Regions from separate parts of the Homo sapiens genome. Here region 1 is linked to region 2. Evidence: promoter capture Hi-C in human tissues and cell types (Jung and others, 2019). All regions are on one chromosome and are shown on one strand. Each heading gives the region's core, a stretch centred on a gene start or on the middle of the fragment in contact. The rest is flanking DNA. Distances are from core to core; before and after follow the strand shown. Region 1 overlaps PTPRA (protein tyrosine phosphatase receptor type A). Region 2 holds the start of C20orf141 (chromosome 20 open reading frame 141).

Region 1 (3,848 bases), core at 587-3,086, 110 kb after region 2:
AACATTTTGGTTTATTTATTGGGACTCTTTTTTCCCCCCAGTGATTCTTGTTTCTCCAACAATGTGAATGCGCACTCCATTCAGTGTGAACGTGAATGTTAATTTATGTGCCAGCTGGATTCTACAGGAAGCAGACACAGATGGGGTTGGAGGGGCAAAGGGCTTATTAGAGGAGTAATGCCTGTGAAGAAAAGGGGAACGGAACATGTTTGGGTATAGGGAGCCATCAGACTGCAGTGCACACCTGACGAAGTCTCTGCCCACCCAGATTGCCTGATAGAGGAATACCACAAGAGGTAGAAATGGCTAGGCTCTTGTACTACCACTTTGCACAGTCATTGACTAGAGATAGATCTTTGATCAATGTAGAGATTTTCAGCCTTGGCATTGTTGACATTTGGGACTGGATACTTTGTTATAGGGGGTTGTCCTGTGATTTGTAAGATGCTTAGCAGCATCCTAGGCCTCTATCCCCTAGATGCCAGTAGCCCAGCCTCCCTGCTATTAGTTGTGACAGTCAAAACTATCTTTAGACACTGCCATATGTTCCCTAGGGAAGGGCCTAATGGTATATAAACAACCCTATGGTGGCATAGTCCAAGTTTTGGGACAGGGAGGAGTGTTCTATACTACCCTTACTGGAAAGACCTATGAGCTATTCAGAAATCTGAACTATTTAAGATGGAGCTTTGTTCTGTGGCTCCTGGAATTTTAAGCACACCCCTGTGAAACATCTTGTTAGGATATACTCCACTCTCCAAAACAATCCATAATGTTTAAATAGGGCTGTTTTATTGATTGATTGATTGATTGATTGAGATGGAGTCTCACTCTGTTGCCCAGGCTGGAGTACACTGTCACGATCTCGGCTCACTGCAACCTCCCCCTCCTGGGTTCAAGCAATTCTCCTGCCTCAGCCTCCCAAGTAACTGGGATTACAGACACCCACCACCGTGCCTGGCTAATTTTTGTATTTTTGGTAGAGACGGGGTTTCACCATGTTGGCCAGGCTGGTCTCGAACTCCTGACTTCTCAGGTGATCCGCCTGCCTCGGCCTCCCAAAGTGCTGGGATTATAGGCATGAGCCACCGCACCTGGCCTTATTTTTCTTTTTGAGATGGAGTCTGACTTTGTCGCCTGAGCTGGAGTGCAGTGGCGCGATCTGGGCTCACTGCAGCCTCTGCCTCCCGGGTTCAAGCAATTCTACCTCAGCCTCCTGAACAGCTGAGATTAGAGATGCGTGCCACCATGCCCAGCTAATTTTTGTATTTTTAGTAGATGCAGGATTTCAGCATGTTGGCTAGGCTGGTCTCAAACTCCTGACCTCAAGTGATCCACCCACCTCGGCCTCCCAAAGTGCTGGGATTACAGGCATGAGCCACCGCTCCTGGCTATTTTCTTTTGAGACTGGGTCTCATTCTGTTCCCAGGCTGGAGTGCAGTGGCACAATCTCAGCTCACTGGAAACTCCACCTTCTGGGCTCAAGCAGTCCTCCCACCTCAGCCTGCTAAGTAGCTGGGATTATAGGCATGTGCCACCCTGCCTGGCTACTTTTTGTGGAGATGGGATTTTGCATGTTGCCTAGGCTGGGCTTGAATTCCTAAGCTAGAACAATCTGCTCAGGGATGTTGTATATTTCTAAAGGTATTTTTCCTTTTGTTGCAGGTGACACAACTAAAAAAAAACAAAGGTATTTATGGAATTCCACTGAGTGGTAATGGATGATGCAGTTCAAATAACTAAGGTAAGAGAAATAAAACCAGAACTGTGAGGAGGCTTTTGCCAGCCAAGTAGTGTCCTTAAATAAAGCTAACATCACATGCTTTCCTGCTTCATTTCGTTTCTAAGCTGTAAGAGTAGCTTATTTTTTTATTATTATAAACATTGTAATTATCCTTTAAGATACTTCTTAACCTGATTATGAATCAGAATCACTTGAAGAGCTTTTTTTTTTTAAAAAAAAAGACCAAAGTCAGGCTGGGCATGGTGGATCACGCCTGTAATCCCAGCACTTTGGGAGGCCGAGGCGGGCAGATCACTTGAGGTCAGGAGTTCAAGACCAGCCTGGCCAACATGGTGAAACCCCATCTCTACCAAAAATACAAAAATTAGCCAGATGTGGTGGCATGTGCCTGTAATCCCAGCTACTCGGGAGGCTGAAGCAGGAGGATCCCTTGAACCCAGGAGACAGAGGTTGCAGTGAGCTGAGATCGCACACTGCATTCCATTCTGGGCACCAAAGAATGAAACTCCTTCTCAAAAAAATAAAAATAAAAAGACCAAAGTTAATGCCCTGCCAGCATTGAATTAAAGCTTCTTGAGTAGATCACAGATGATCTCCAAGTTTTTTAAGTGGGAATGTAAACCAACTCTATAGTTTTAGAAAACTCTTTGGCAATATCTGCAAAACATACACGTATCTAATAACCCAGGAATTTCAATTCTAGGTATCCACCTTTGAGAAATGAAAAATATATGTCTACACAAAAGTGCACATACAAATGTTCACTGCAGCTTTATGTATTATAGCCAGAAAAACTGTAACCCAATCAGGTGTCCAAAAACAGGAGAATAGTTAAACAAATTGTGATATATGGTCAGGTGTGGTGGCTTACACCTGTAATCTAAGCACTTGGGAGGCTAAGGCGGGCAGATCAGTTGACCAGCCTGGTCAACATGGTGAAACCCCATCTCTACTAAAATTACAAAAATGAGCTGAGTGTGGTGGCTCACGCCTGTAATCCCAGCTACTCAGGAGGCTAAGACAGGAGAATGGCTTGAAGCCAGGAGGCAGAAGTTGCAGTGAGGTGAGATCACGCCCCTGCACTCCATCCAATCTGGGCAACAGGGCGAGACTATGTATCAACAACAACAAAAAATTGACATACACTATTGATAACATGGAATTTTATTCAGTAATAGAAAGGAACAAACTACCAGTAGACATGACAACATGGATGAATCTCGTAGATAAAAGGTTGAGTGAAAGAAACCAGATGGACAAGAAAAAGTAGATGTAGCAGAATTACCGAGTAAAACTAAACTACAGTGATAAAGGTCATATCCCTACTTCCTCTGACAGGAGGTGGGAGGTTGTGACTGGAAAGAGGTATGAGAGAGCCTCTGCAGCACCGAAAAGGTGTTTTGTTTTGTTTTTTGAGACTGAGTCTTGCTATGTCACCAGGCTGGAGTGCAGTGGTGTGATCTCAGCTCACTGCAACCTCCGCTTCCTGGGTTCAAGCAATTCTCCTGCCTCAGCTTCCCAAGTAGCTGGGATTACAGACACGCGCCACCACGCCCAGCTAATTTTTGTATTTTTAATAGAGACAGAGTTTCACCATGTTGGCCAGGATGGTCTCGATTGCCCAACCTCATGATCCGCCTGCCTCTGCCTCCCAAAGTGCTGGGATTACAGGCATGAGCCACCGCGCCCGGCCTGAAAAGGTTTTACATCTTAATGTGTTCATATACATACTTTTCTCATGGTAAAATATATATAAGATTAAATTTATCATTTTAACTACTTTTAAAGTATACAATTCATTGGCATTAAGTACATTCCTGTTGTGCAGCCATCACCACTGTCCATCTCCAAAACTTTTTCATCTCCCCAAACTGAAACTCCATATCCATTAAACACTAACTCCCCATTTCCTCCTCCCCCAGCTGCTGGCAACCATTCTACCTTCTGTCTCTATGAATTTGACTATAATAGTTACCTCGTATAAGTGGAATCATATTTGTCATTTGACATCTGGTTTGTTTCACATAGGTTTATTTCACAAAGGTATCTTGTTTATTTCACATAGGATGACCTTGTTTTCAAGTCATCCATGTTGTAGCATATA
Region 2 (3,736 bases), core at 678-3,177:
CTGGGCAACAAGAGCGAAACTCTGTCTCAAAAAAAAAAAAAAAAAAAAATAGAAAGAAAGGTTTTCCTCCTCAGAGCACTCCCTCAATAAACCATGTGTACAAGTATCCCCATCTCAGGCTCTACTTTTAGAAATTATGACCCATTGATATAGTCTGAATATTTGTCCAAATCTCAAGTTGAAATCTCAAATCCCAATGTTGGAGGTAGGGCCTGATGGGAGGTGTTTGGGTCATGGGGGTGGATATTTCATGGCTTGGTGCTGTCCTTGAAATAGTGAGTGAGTTCTCTCAAGATCTGGTTGTTTAAGTGTGTGGCAACTCCCCTAACCACCACTCTCTCCCTTGCTCTTCACCCTTTGCCTTCTGCCATGATTGGAAGTTTCCTGAGGTCTCCCCAAAAGCAGATGCTGGTACCCTACTTCCTGTACAGCCTGCAAAACTGCAAGCCAATTAAGCCTCTTTTCTTATAAATTACCCAGTCTCAGGTATTTCTTCATAGCAACGCAAGAATGGCCTAATACACCCACCATCTGGTGCAGTGCCTGGCACATAGGAAGCACTTAAATAAATGATTGTTGAATACAAAATAAACTCTGAGAAAATCACAGACAGAACTCTCCTATACATGCATACAGAGCACCTGGTGCATAGTAAATCTTTAAGGAGCTTTAGACTCTCCGATCCCCCCATGCCCTGCAATATGGAGTAGCCTCATCTTGGTGGACTCATCAGGACATGCTCCCCAGGTCTGTATGTCCAGGAATGCAATTGTGTGGATGCATCCAGGATTGATCAGGCTCAGGGAATTGCCAATCTTAAACCTTAATGTTCCTTTACAAGCACAATTGGAACTTAATGCCAAAAAAAAAAAAATTCTGGGATCTTCTGTTATACCCTATCCCATTACGGACAAATCTACTCGTAAAACCCAGCTGCTGGATAAGCAAGAACAGCCAGACCAAGGGCGATCAGTGCATGGTCATTAGGGCTGGTGACCCTCGTCTCTGGGCAAGGCCTGCTGGAGGTGGATATGCAGCCTGATTCTTGTTCTGTCTCCTCCTCTCCTAGGGGCTGTATGGCCACTGTCTCCCATTTTGCCACCCCTACCAGTTTTCCTTCAAAGTATGATATGTGGGCAAAGATTAAGTTCTCTTAATTATGACACATTTCCGCTCTTGCCTCTCAAGTCACTAAACTGAGATGTGCTGGACCCCTATGGCCACCACCCATTTACAGATGATCAGTGTAATCTGATATACTGATAATCCAAGTGACTAAGCCCTTCATTATATGTTCATTTTCCTTAACTCCATTCTCAGACTGTAACCTTAACCTCTAATAAGGGGGTTACTAGGTCATAGTCCTCTTAAGTTCATGTCCTCTACCTCATTACTGGAACCCCAGTATGCATAACACCCCCTATAAACTGTAGTGCTTAGAATACCTGAACAGCCCCCTCCTCTCTCACCCCCATTTAGCAGGTTATGCGGAAGCCCAGCCCCAGAAGCCTCAGGCAGTCCCCTGGCAGAGCCCATCTCTGCAATCTGGAACTTCAGGCCTGAAAAATCCCCTAGAAGGACCCACAGGGAAGACAGCTGGGGACAGAGATATTGAATGACTTCGCCCTGGACCTGCAGCTCTGCAAACTCACAGGAAGAAGAAAGCAGACCTCGCTCCCTTGGACAGATGCCCAAGTAGTAATGGGGTTAGAATGCCTTCCTGACAACTCAGATCCCCAAGGGAGGGCCCTAGGGCAGAGAATCAGCAAAGGCAAGAGGATGAGTCTTAGTTCTCAGAAATCCCTGACTTCCCAGCTAAGCCCCACCTAGGCCACCAGCTGCTTATGAGGTCAGAGCAGCAGCAGCAGCAGCCCCCTCCCTACCCCACGGCCCCACGTGGTAACAGGTCACAATGCCCCGGGTGCCCACTCCCAGAATGCTGACCAAAGTGGGAGGAGGTGAGGAGGGTTTGCTGGGTGGGTATGGGGGAGGGGGAGACTCTGCAGGAGCCTAATTCCCCACTCTGAGCTCACCCTTCTGTCTGCCCGGGCCCTACCCCTTCCCCTACTCTCACCCTTATAATCCTTTTCAGCACTAGGTCTTCCCGTCACCTCCACCTCTCTCCATGACCCGGCTCTGCTTACCCAGACCCGAAGCACGTGAGGATCCGATCCCAGTTCCTCCAAGGGGCCTGGGTGCTGGGGAGGGGTCAGGTAGTCCAGTGCGTCCACCTGTATCCACCTGGGGCCCTAGCTGGGCCCAGCTCCTGGACAGTGTCCTATGGCTGGGGGCACTAGGACTGACAATCCAGGCAGTCTTTTCCACCACTGGCCCAGCCCTGCTGCTGCTTCTGGTCAGCTTCCTCACCTTTGACCTGCTCCATAGGTAAGTGGGCAGCAGCCTGGCAGGTGGGCATTGTAGGCGGGCGGGCCAGTGGACAACTTCCCTAAGCCCAGTCACCACCCTCTCTCTCCACAGGCCCGCAGGTCACACTCTGCCACAGCGCAAACTTCTCACCAGGGGCCAGAGTCAGGGGGCCGGTGAAGGTCCTGGACAGCAGGAGGCTCTACTCCTGCAAATGGGTACAGTCTCAGGACAACTTAGCCTCCAGGACGCACTGCTGCTGCTGCTCATGGGGCTGGGCCCGCTCCTGAGAGCCTGTGGCATGCCCTTGACCCTGCTTGGCCTGGCTTTCTGCCTCCATCCTTGGGCCTGAGAGCCCCTCCCCACAACTCAGTGTCCTTCAAATATACAATGACCACCCTTCTTCATCAGGCCCCCTTTTCTCCTTCCTGGCTGGGCAGGTGGGATGATACCCCTTTCTTCCCAGCCTGAACCTCACAGTCCTATAATATAGGTATCAGATACCTGGATCTGAGTCTTTGGGCAGCAAGAGAAGGTAGGATACTAGCCAGGGAGCCCAAGGAAGAATGTGGCAGCCACCTCAGAGCCTGTGGATTGGGGGCAGCCACTCTGGCCTCCTCTGTGGCTCTAGAGAATGAAGGTCCAGACAGAAAGACTTGCGAGAGAGCAGTTTGGAAAGGGGTGGATATCAGCCAGCAGGGAAAGCAGGAAAGGGACAGGGATCCAGGGAGGGCTTCCCATGAGAAAGCATGAGAAACTACATCTGCGGGGCTCCGAGGCTCCCCTGCCAGCCTGGAGGGTCCGTGCAGAGGGACTTGGGTGGGCCTCACACCCTACAGTGACTCCTCTCTTGGCTGGACCCCACCCCAGCCCGGGTCACAAAGGGGCTCCTCTGGGGAGGGTGGGGGTAGATGAGAGTGGGGACTTGGATCTGCCTGCCAGGCCGTCCTGGGCGCTGCAGGAAGCAACATGACTTAGGTAACTGCCCAGAGGTAAGTCCCAGTCCCTAATTCTGTAGCCCCACCCCACGCACACTGGTGCCCTCCTGACCCCTGCACCCCCTCTCTGCCCCCCCCCCCCAAGGTCCCAGGCATCTTCAAGACCCTGGCCCTCTCCCCAGGTGCACCAGACATGATGCAGCAGCCGCGAGTGGAGACAGATACCATCGGGGCTGGCGAGGGGCCACAGCAGGCAGTGCCCTGGTCAGCCTGGGTCACGAGGCATGGCTGGGTGCGCTGGTGGGTGAGCCACATGCCCCCGAGCTGGATCCAGTGGTGGAGCACCTCGAACTGGCGGCAACCGCTGCAGCGCCTGCTGTGGGGTCTGGAGGGGATACTCTACCTGCTGCTGGCACTGATGTTGTGCCATGCAC

What was found. The method cuts DNA at HindIII sites, captures the fragments that hold promoters and counts their contacts. A contact is called where the count stands out against the background at its distance.
Region 1: a fragment that was not itself captured here is called in contact with the fragment with the promoter of C20orf141 in region 2 in 2 of the 25 tissues and cell types used here (IMR-90 fibroblasts and lymphoblastoid cells).

Annotation. Positions count from the first base shown.
Region 1 is chr20:2,921,542-2,925,389 of GRCh38, forward strand. It overlaps PTPRA (protein tyrosine phosphatase receptor type A), which reads left to right. Exons shown (of 24, transcript NM_001385305.1): 2 at 1,666-1,744. Among named protein-coding and RNA genes, the nearest start is that of PTPRA, 50 kb to the left of the region's middle. RefSeq lists an enhancer at 1,188-1,688. The HindIII fragment of the contact is 5,316 bases long and covers 1-3,848 here.
Region 2 is chr20:2,813,060-2,816,795 of GRCh38, forward strand. It overlaps C20orf141 (chromosome 20 open reading frame 141), which reads left to right and starts at 1,928. Exons shown (of 3, transcript NM_001256538.2): 1 at 1,928-1,958; 2 at 2,093-2,385; 3 at 2,479-2,771. The coding sequence starts at 2,126. The coding sequence ends at 2,716. TMEM239 (transmembrane protein 239) reads left to right here and starts at 3,305. Exons shown (of 2, transcript NM_001167670.3): 1 at 3,305-3,356; 2 at 3,485-3,736. The coding sequence starts at 3,496. The HindIII fragment of the contact is 18,533 bases long and covers 1-3,736 here.